Linked DNA regions of Homo sapiens: region 2 is linked to region 1. Evidence: promoter capture Hi-C in 16 types of primary human blood cells and fetal thymus (Javierre and others, 2016). All regions are on one chromosome and are shown on one strand. The core of a region is centred on a gene start or on the middle of the fragment in contact, and the rest is flanking DNA. Distances in the headings are between cores, read along the strand shown. Region 1 holds the start of ZNF862 (zinc finger protein 862). Region 2 holds the start of LOC105375567 (a long non-coding RNA gene).

Evidence for each region. Contacts are between HindIII fragments. The CHiCAGO score rates a contact against its expected background, and 5 or more counts as called.
Region 2: a contact is called between a fragment that was not itself captured here and the fragment with the promoter of ZNF862 in region 1, in 2 of 17 cell types (activated CD4 T cells and naive CD8 T cells). The highest score is 6.4, in activated CD4 T cells.

The regions. Positions count from the first base shown.
Region 1 is chr7:149,836,627-149,840,697 of GRCh38, reverse strand. It overlaps ZNF862 (zinc finger protein 862), which reads right to left and starts at 2,323. Exons shown (of 8, transcript NM_001099220.3): 1 at 2,063-2,323. The coding sequence starts at 2,086. RefSeq lists a silencer at 1,788-2,247. The HindIII fragment of the contact is 19,921 bases long and covers 523-4,071 here.
Region 2 is chr7:150,876,061-150,880,166 of GRCh38, reverse strand. LOC105375567 (a long non-coding RNA gene) reads left to right here and starts at 3,037. Exons shown (of 5, transcript XR_928171.3): 1 at 3,037-3,158. The HindIII fragment of the contact is 2,523 bases long and covers 1,263-3,785 here.

The DNA.
Region 1 (4,071 bases), core at 1,074-3,573:
ATTTGCGTATCTAAACATAGAAAAGGTACAGTAAGAATATGGTAGAAAAGACAAAAAAAAAAAAAAGGTCCATCTGTATTGGGCACTTACCATGAATGGAGCTTGCAGGACTGGAAGTTGCTCTGGGTGAGTGAGTGAGTGAGTGAGTGAGTGGTGAGAGAATGTGAAGGCCTAGGACATGACTGAACACTTCTGTAGACTTTATAAACACTGCACACTAAGGCTACGCCGAATTTATCAAAAATTTTTCTTTCTTCAATAATAAATTAACCCTAGCTTATTGTAACTGTTTTACTTTATAAACTTAATTTTTTAAACTTTTGACTCTTTTGTAATAACACTTAGCTTAACACACATTGTACACCTGTACAATATTTTTCTTTAAATATTTTTGTATTTTTATTTTCCAGCAAACCATTCCATCAACAAAAAGTATTTTTCTTTATATTCTAATTCTATGAGGTTTTGTATTTTTAAATTTTTTTTTTTTTTTTTTTTTTTTTTTTTTTTACTTTTTAAGCTTTCTTAAAACCTAAGACACAAACACACACATTAGCCTAAGCCTACACAGGGTCAGGATCATGAAGATGTCACCAGGTGATAGGAATTTCTCAGCCCCACTGTAGTCTCAGGGGATTGTACGTGAGAGCGGTGTTGATGGAAACCTTGTTATACAGCGCATGACCGTATTTCTCTTCTCCCGTTAAAGGCTAAGAAAGCCTCTGACTGAACAGAATAGCTTGGAAATCAACTTCAAATCACTGATACCAATATCAATCCCAATATTTTATAATCCTTCTTCCCCCTACATTTTGCTTCTCTTTATTCAAATTCAGGTTCAATCTAAACCAATCTGGGGATATTTCCAAAGGGTAAGGGCCATAAGCTCCATCTTTGCTTGGGTTTTGTTGAGCTTTATTGGCTTGGACCACGTACTCTGTAGGTGCCGTGTCTGCTACATGCATCACTGTAGCTTGTGGAGGGAGGGAGGATGGAAGAGATGCTCATGCGAGAAATCACCTCTTTTGAAATTCAGAGTCCTTCCTAGTCTTCCCAGGAAAAACTACAGCATCAAAAGAACCTCATTATCCTTTTCTCTCTTTTCGTGTGGGACAACCCTTTCAGGCGTGTCCAAGTTATTGAAGTGAAAACTGCAGGAGAGCTCCTTGAGAAAGGTGATCATTTCCTATTTATCCTCATACTTCCAGCATCTCGTTCAATGCAAATCACAGATCACAAATGTTTATTAAATGGACAGTTTTTTAAGGGACTCAATAAACAGTCGAAAACGTTTGTTGAGAGAATTCTCCTCTGTGCCAAATAAGAAACAATACTCAAGAACTGGCAGCAAACAACATCCAGAAAGATGTTAGTCCCAAGAGGCTGCCACTGTCTCCAAGCTAATGTGCCCACAACCACACTGGTCTTGGATGACACGGCCTGGAAGCGCTGGCAATCCCGTCAAATCCCTGAACTCCGCCCCCAAGCACTTTCTTTCCACCTTTTCTTCCAACTCAAAGCCTCTTGCCCAAAGCCAATTTATGACACAGGTTTCTAAGCAATGCCCAGATATTCCATGAAGTACATAACCTAGAAACAGAAGTGGCAAAAAGCATGCCAGATGCCCTCTCTTTTCAGCCCTTTCTTGGTAAGGAGGATCTAGGCAGGGTCAAGCCCTCAAGCGTCCCACCCTGCAGCTCCCACTGGCGTCCGATCCAGACTCCAAGCCTTAGCAGGGCCTCTTCAAAACGCCGAAGGTGGTGGGGAAAACAGGAAGCACCTTCGCATCGCTCCACTCGGGGGTCACCCAACCCAGCATCGACCCAGCGGACGCTCGGCAGCTCGGGGAGGATGCGCGGACACCGAACGGAAGCGTCCGCTCCTCTCCGCCACCCTCCCGGGGTCGGGCGCCGAAGTGCGGGAAGAGAGGGCGGGCCGGCGAGTCCTTCCCTGCAAGCCTGGCTCATCTGCGGGGCCTCCGCCCGAGCCGCCCCGCCTCGCCCGAGCCCGGCTCGGGGATCCTCGGGAGGGAGCGGGCGGCCCCCGGGCCTTCCAGTCCTACCTTCCCCGACTCTCTGGGCTCCATGGCCCCGCTTTCGGAGGCCCGTGCCGCCCCCTCCCCCCGCGGCCTGGCCTGAGGATGCAGCCGCCGCGACCGCCCCGGGGACCCAGGCTCCCGGAGGGGGAGGGCACCCAGGTAGGGAGGGAGCGCGGCCCAAGAACTTCGCTCTCTCACGTCGGGGGGCGGTAGCGCCGGTGGACCCAGGATAAGCGCGCTGAGCTGAGACTTGCGTCGCACCGAGCGAACAGCTTTACGGTCACTGCCCAGCCCCAGGCGGCGGGGCGTGACGGGAAGTGTAGTCCGCTCTAGGTGAGCGGCTCTCGAAGCTGCTATTGGCTCCCGGAACGCAGGTCCTGATTGGACGCCGGCGGCGCGCTTGCGACCCTCCCCGCCTCCCTCCGGCGACAGTTACTAGGCAACGGCGGCGTGGCGTCCTTTAGTCCTCTGCAGCAAGGGCAAAGCGCTCTGATTGGGCTACGCGAAGGCCAATGTCAGCCTTGAAGTTCTAGGTTTTCTTTTATTAAGGAGGGCAATACTTTTTGTTCTATTCACTCAAAAAGTATCATTGGTTGCCTACCATGGGTCAGGCCGTGTTCTAGGGTTTGGGAGAACACAGTTGAATGAGACAAAGGCCTTGCCTTCAAGGAACTCACGATCTATTAGGGAATCAGACCAGAAACAGATAATTACAAAACAGAGACAAGGGCTATGAAAGAGGTAAGCACAAAACATGAATTAAAGCCCGCGTTGTCACCTTAGAGTGAAGCGGTGGGGGATATGAGGTGCTTAGTCAAGGATTTCCTGCGGAAGTGATGCCTCAGCAGAATTAAAGCAAGAGGTAGGGTCTGCCAGGTAAAGGAGGTGCAATGGACTGACCGGTGTTCCCCTCCCAGGAGATGGGGCGTTTGGGAGGTTTAGATGAAGTCGTGAGGGTCAGGCCCTTATGGTGGGATTAGTGTCCTTATAAGAAGTTTTGTCCAAGTGCGGTGGCTCACACCTCTAATCCCAACTCTTTGGGAGGCTGAGACAGGAGGATCACTTGAGCCCAGTAGTTTGAGACCAGCCTGTGCAACACAGTGAGAGATCCCATCTCTATAAAAATAAAATAATTTTGTGAGGTGGAAGGATCACTTGAGCCTGGGTGGTCGAGGCTGCAGTAAGCCGGGATGGCGCTTCTGCACTCCAGCCTGGGTGACAGAGCAAGACCATGTCTCAAAAAAAAAAAAGACTTTTAGGGGGCCAGGGCAGGGATGTGCCTTCATGAAGGTGTTAGTGACCACATGCGTGCTGGGGGAACTAGCTAGGCCCTTTGCCCTTCTGCCCCTCTGCCTTCTGCCATGTGAGGACAGAGCAAAAAGGTGCCCTCCTGGAAGCAGAGACCAGGCTCTCACCAGACACAGACACTGCTGGTGCTTTGATCTTGGATTTCCCAGCCTCCAGAATCATAAGAAATAAGTATCCATAATTTATAAATTACCTAGTTCCAGGGATTTTGTTACAGAAGCACATAGAGATTAAGACAATGGTCAACTAATTTTTTTGTATTTTTAGTAGAGACAGGGTTTCACCATGTTACACAGGCTTCAAGTAAGCGTTTTCCATTATCCAGCTCTGCTCTTCTGGCCAAGGTTGAATAGACCTAAATTCCGTTCGAGGAGTGTAGGGGAGTCTGCATTACTGAAAAAAAGAATGAGACACAAGAAATGTGGAGGAGAAGGCAGAGAGTGAGGACTCTGTGGATTCCAAGTGGCCTGCCACTCACCACCTCGACTATATCACTACCTTGAAGAGCTATATTTCTGCCCATGAGTTATCCATGTCTTTATAACAGATTCTCTTTTAGGGGTTAAAAAACTGGAGGACAGCTAGGGTAAATCATTCTTTTGACACATTTTTCCATAAAAGGTTTTCCATCTTTCCAAGAAAAATGGAGCAGTATCTAGGGGGAAATGGGGAATCAAAGCAGTAGGACTAAGATATGAGTCACAAGATCTTGTTTCTGTGTTGAT
Region 2 (4,106 bases), core at 1,275-3,774, 1.0 Mb before region 1:
GTTCAGACAGTGGAAGGACTCTTCTTAGCTATTTGTTTTGTTTTCTCTGGTAAACTGGCTGGCATATAGTTTATCCCATTATCTTTATTGTTTACCACCAAAATCTCCATTGTTTTTGCGAGTTCCCTTATGCTTGAACTTCTCTACATCCTGTTTTAAATCAAGTTAGTTTCTTGGGGGGTCGGGGGAGAGCTTCAGTGCTCTCTGTTCTTATGATCTACCTCTTCCTTTGGGCAAAATCTTTGAGTCACTGCTCAAGACCTGGGGGTAGGGGCTGTGGCTGGCTTCTCTCAGAGCCCTCCTGCTTTACAGAGCAGGGCTCTGCGTGGTGGCAGTAGCCTCTTGTCTTCTCAGGTTGCTGTTGTAGCATGGAACCTCTGATCCAAACGCAATTGGGGCTTCAGTAATTTCAGCCTGCATCACCTGGGGTAGTCTCCACCTATGAGTGGGGACTGGGTGGAGGAGAGAAGCTTCCATTCTCTCAGCTGCACTCATCTACAATTTAGCCTGTGCAAAATGGGGGCTGAGGAATTCTGGTGGCCTGCCTCTTCTGGGGAGCCATTGTATTGCTTGACTGGGAGCTGGATGGAGAGGGAGCTGTGTTTTCCTGGCTAAGTCCATGAAGAGTGGAGCTTCTGTTAAGTGAGTTGGGGGGATGGAGGAGAGAGGAAGTGAGTCATGGCTCAAGTGTCATAGATTCTCATTGTTCTTATTGGGAACAATTTCCAGAGACTTTAAATGCTTAAAAATCATTTAACTAGATATAAGTGTTTTGCTGGGGAGCAGGTCTGCAGAGCTCCTCATACAATCATTCTGGAAGTGGTCTCTGCTTTTTTCTCTTCCTTCTTTTTTCTTTCTTCCCTTTCTTTTTCTTTCTGTGTGTAGTTTCTGTTTTGTTTTGTTAACCTATGGATCAACAGCAGAAGATGTCAGATGTAAGAAATGATGGTAGGACGTGGGATGCTATTAGTAGGTATATCAGCTAATGTTGAAGACACTACTCTTAAATCAAGGAAAATATGATCAGAATAATAAATTTTTAAAGTATAGTGAACAAATTCTTCAGTAAGGCTGAAGGTTAAAAGTAAAAAGTTTCAAAGCAATACTTTTCTTGGCTCTTCTTTATAATAATTTATTGTCTAGTGAGCTACTAACCCTTTTTCTTTATGACTTGATTGCCCCCGTATGCTAAAATACTTGCTGTTTTACTTTTCCTTTCATTGACATTTACAATCCTTTGTCTTTTAGTAGTTTCACAAGCTTTGAAACAATGTTTAGATAATTTTAAAAAATAAAAATAAAACAATGCTAAGGGTACAATCATTGATGTTTTAAATATATCAGCTGCTATAAGGCACTTTGTCCAATTTTCATAATAATTTTGTCTTAATGGTGTTAAGAGCAAAGATTTAAGATTTACTTTCTTAGTGCCATAAAAATAAGAGCTATTCAGCTGGGTTTCTGAAATATTAAGTGCAATGCAAAAGTTTGTTTGCCTAATATCCCTGGACACCAGGCTTCCCAAAATATCCTGCCCCAGACCATAGCCACATCTTCCCACTAGATTCCTGGGCAACTAGAAACAATGGTAAAGGAAAACAAGGTCACACAATTTTTTTTGAGATGGAGTCTTGCTCTGTCACCCAGGCTGGACTGCAGTGGCGCGATGTCGGCTCACTGCAAGCTCAGCCTCCCTGATTCACACCATTCTCCTGCCTCAGCCTCATGAGTTGCTGGGACTACAGGCGCCCGCCACCACGCCCAGCTAATTTTCTTTTCTATTTTTCGTGGAGATGGGGTTTCACCATGTTAGCCAGGATGGTCTTGATCTCCGACCTCGTGATCCACCCGCCTCGGCCTCCCAAAGTGCTGGGATAACAGGCGTGAGACACTGTGCTCGGCTAAGGTCACACTAATTGTTAGCTGGGAGTGGACCCCAAACCTGTTGAAAGAACCCATCAGCTTTCCTTTAAGAAGGTAATGCCACAGACCACAACAGATAATTGAGGGTTATTCTGTGAGCTTCCACTAAAGCTAAAACATGTGTGGAAGGGACAGAAGAGAGGATAACAGGTTTGCTGGCCTGTTTACCACTTGGGGACGTTTGGATGGATGATGAAGAAGAAAAAGAATCAAAAGGACTGGGGCTCATCACAGGTGGGAATAGTATAATATTAGCTCTTCATTCAGAACCATGGTAGCAAAAAGAGAGAAAACTGCATCTGTGGACTGAATTATTCCCCTCAGCCCTCTACCCCAGTGTGTCTTCTTTTTGGGAATAGAGTAGAAAGCCAGGAAAATGGTGGGGATCTAGGAGGAAGCAGGCATCTCCTCTGACTTGCACGTCCCCCTGTTTCACTGTCCTTTGTTAACTCACTGTGTTTGACAGCCACATCTGTGGTCAGCCAGGGGTGCAGCTGCTCCTACTGGTAGCTAATGGCCATAGAACACCAGGGGCGTCTTAAAGCCCCTTCTGTGATCCGCACCACTGCTCCTGGGTATACTCCCAGGGTCTGTTATATGGGTAACATGCACCTCGCAGCAAGATCTCCTGAAATGGGTTAGGACAGGAATATTAGGTAATTGCAAACCCATACTTCCCACCATTCTTGTCTTCAATTATGGCCAATTACATAGTTACGGCAGCCTTGTATTGTTACAATACAATCTTCCTCTATGCTTAGGAACCTCTATGGAGATGGTTGTGTTACTTCAACCAAAGACAAGAAGAGACTAATCTGCAGAATTAGAACAATTCCCTAGTTCTTCAACAAATCAGTGCTGCTTTTCTTGCCAATAATAGACGTGTTTGTATTTCTCCGTGGAAACCCTTGGGGTAAACATGTTGCTTGTTCTTCCAATAAAGAATTGAACCACCAGAGGGCCTCAGGCGACTCAGGAGGTTTGGGAAGAGACAAAGGCACATGCTTAGAGGGTCTGGAGAAGGCGAGGAAGAAGGAAGGGAGCCAAGTAAAACATGTGACTGACCAGGGGCTTTGGAGAAGACAAGCCCTGCAGGAAGGCACGCATGTGGTCATTCTGTCTGTAGCCTCCCATTCCTCCCTGCTTTCCCCAGCTGCATCTACCTGGATCCTGAATTTGAACCAAGTGGTCCAAACGGCCCGGTCACCTGAGCAACCCCTCTGCAGGAACCGCAGGTGTGGGCGGGGTGGTGGGGAGGAGGCGGGGGGGTGGGGGAAAGGCGGGGGGTGGGGGGAGCTCAGCGGCGCCATCTAGCGTCCAGACAGCGGTGGCTCTGGGAAAGCTGATTGTTTTCTTAGCCAGAGGAGGAAGAGAAGGTTGGTCCTCAGCGCCTGGACGCCTGGTAGACGATAGGGGATGACATGATGAGTAAAATAAGGACAGGAACACGCCGAATCCCCTTTCATAATGATAGGACCACGCCAAATCCCCTTTCTTTTTAAAATTTGACATATACCCTTGAATATATATGTATTCTTATAAAATATGGTTATCTGGTATGTATTTATGTATATTGATATAAAGCTGCAGATTTAAAAATAGTACTTCTTTCATCTCTCTCCATCTACATAGTCTTCGTGGTTTTCAGTAAAATGATAATTTCTGGATTACTTAGATGTAGTTATTATGATCCAACCCTTGAATAAGGGGAGTTGAGAGTTGGTGAAACATCCCTGTCTCAATATTTGTTCATGCCATATTTCCTTTGAAAGAATTTACAGATAAAGGCATCAAATACCTGAAAAAGTAACAAGTTTACTATATTTTACTTGAGAATTTGTATATATATTTTTAAGAAAGCTTTTTAGTTTTGGCGTAATTATAAACTCACAAGAGGTAGCAAAAAGAGTACGGAGTTCTGTGAACCTTCAACTGGATTTCTCTAATGGTGACATCTTGCAATGGACTGAGTATGTCTCCCTCAAATTCATGTGTTGAAATCTTAATCTCCATAGTGGTAGCATTAGGAGATGGGGCCTTTGGAAGGTGATTAGGTCACAAGGGCAGTGCCCTCACAAATGAGATTAATGCCCTTATAAAAAAAAAAAAAGACCGCAGAAAACTCTCTTGTCCCTTCCACCATGTGAGGACGCAGTGGGAAGATGGCCAGTCCATGCACCAGG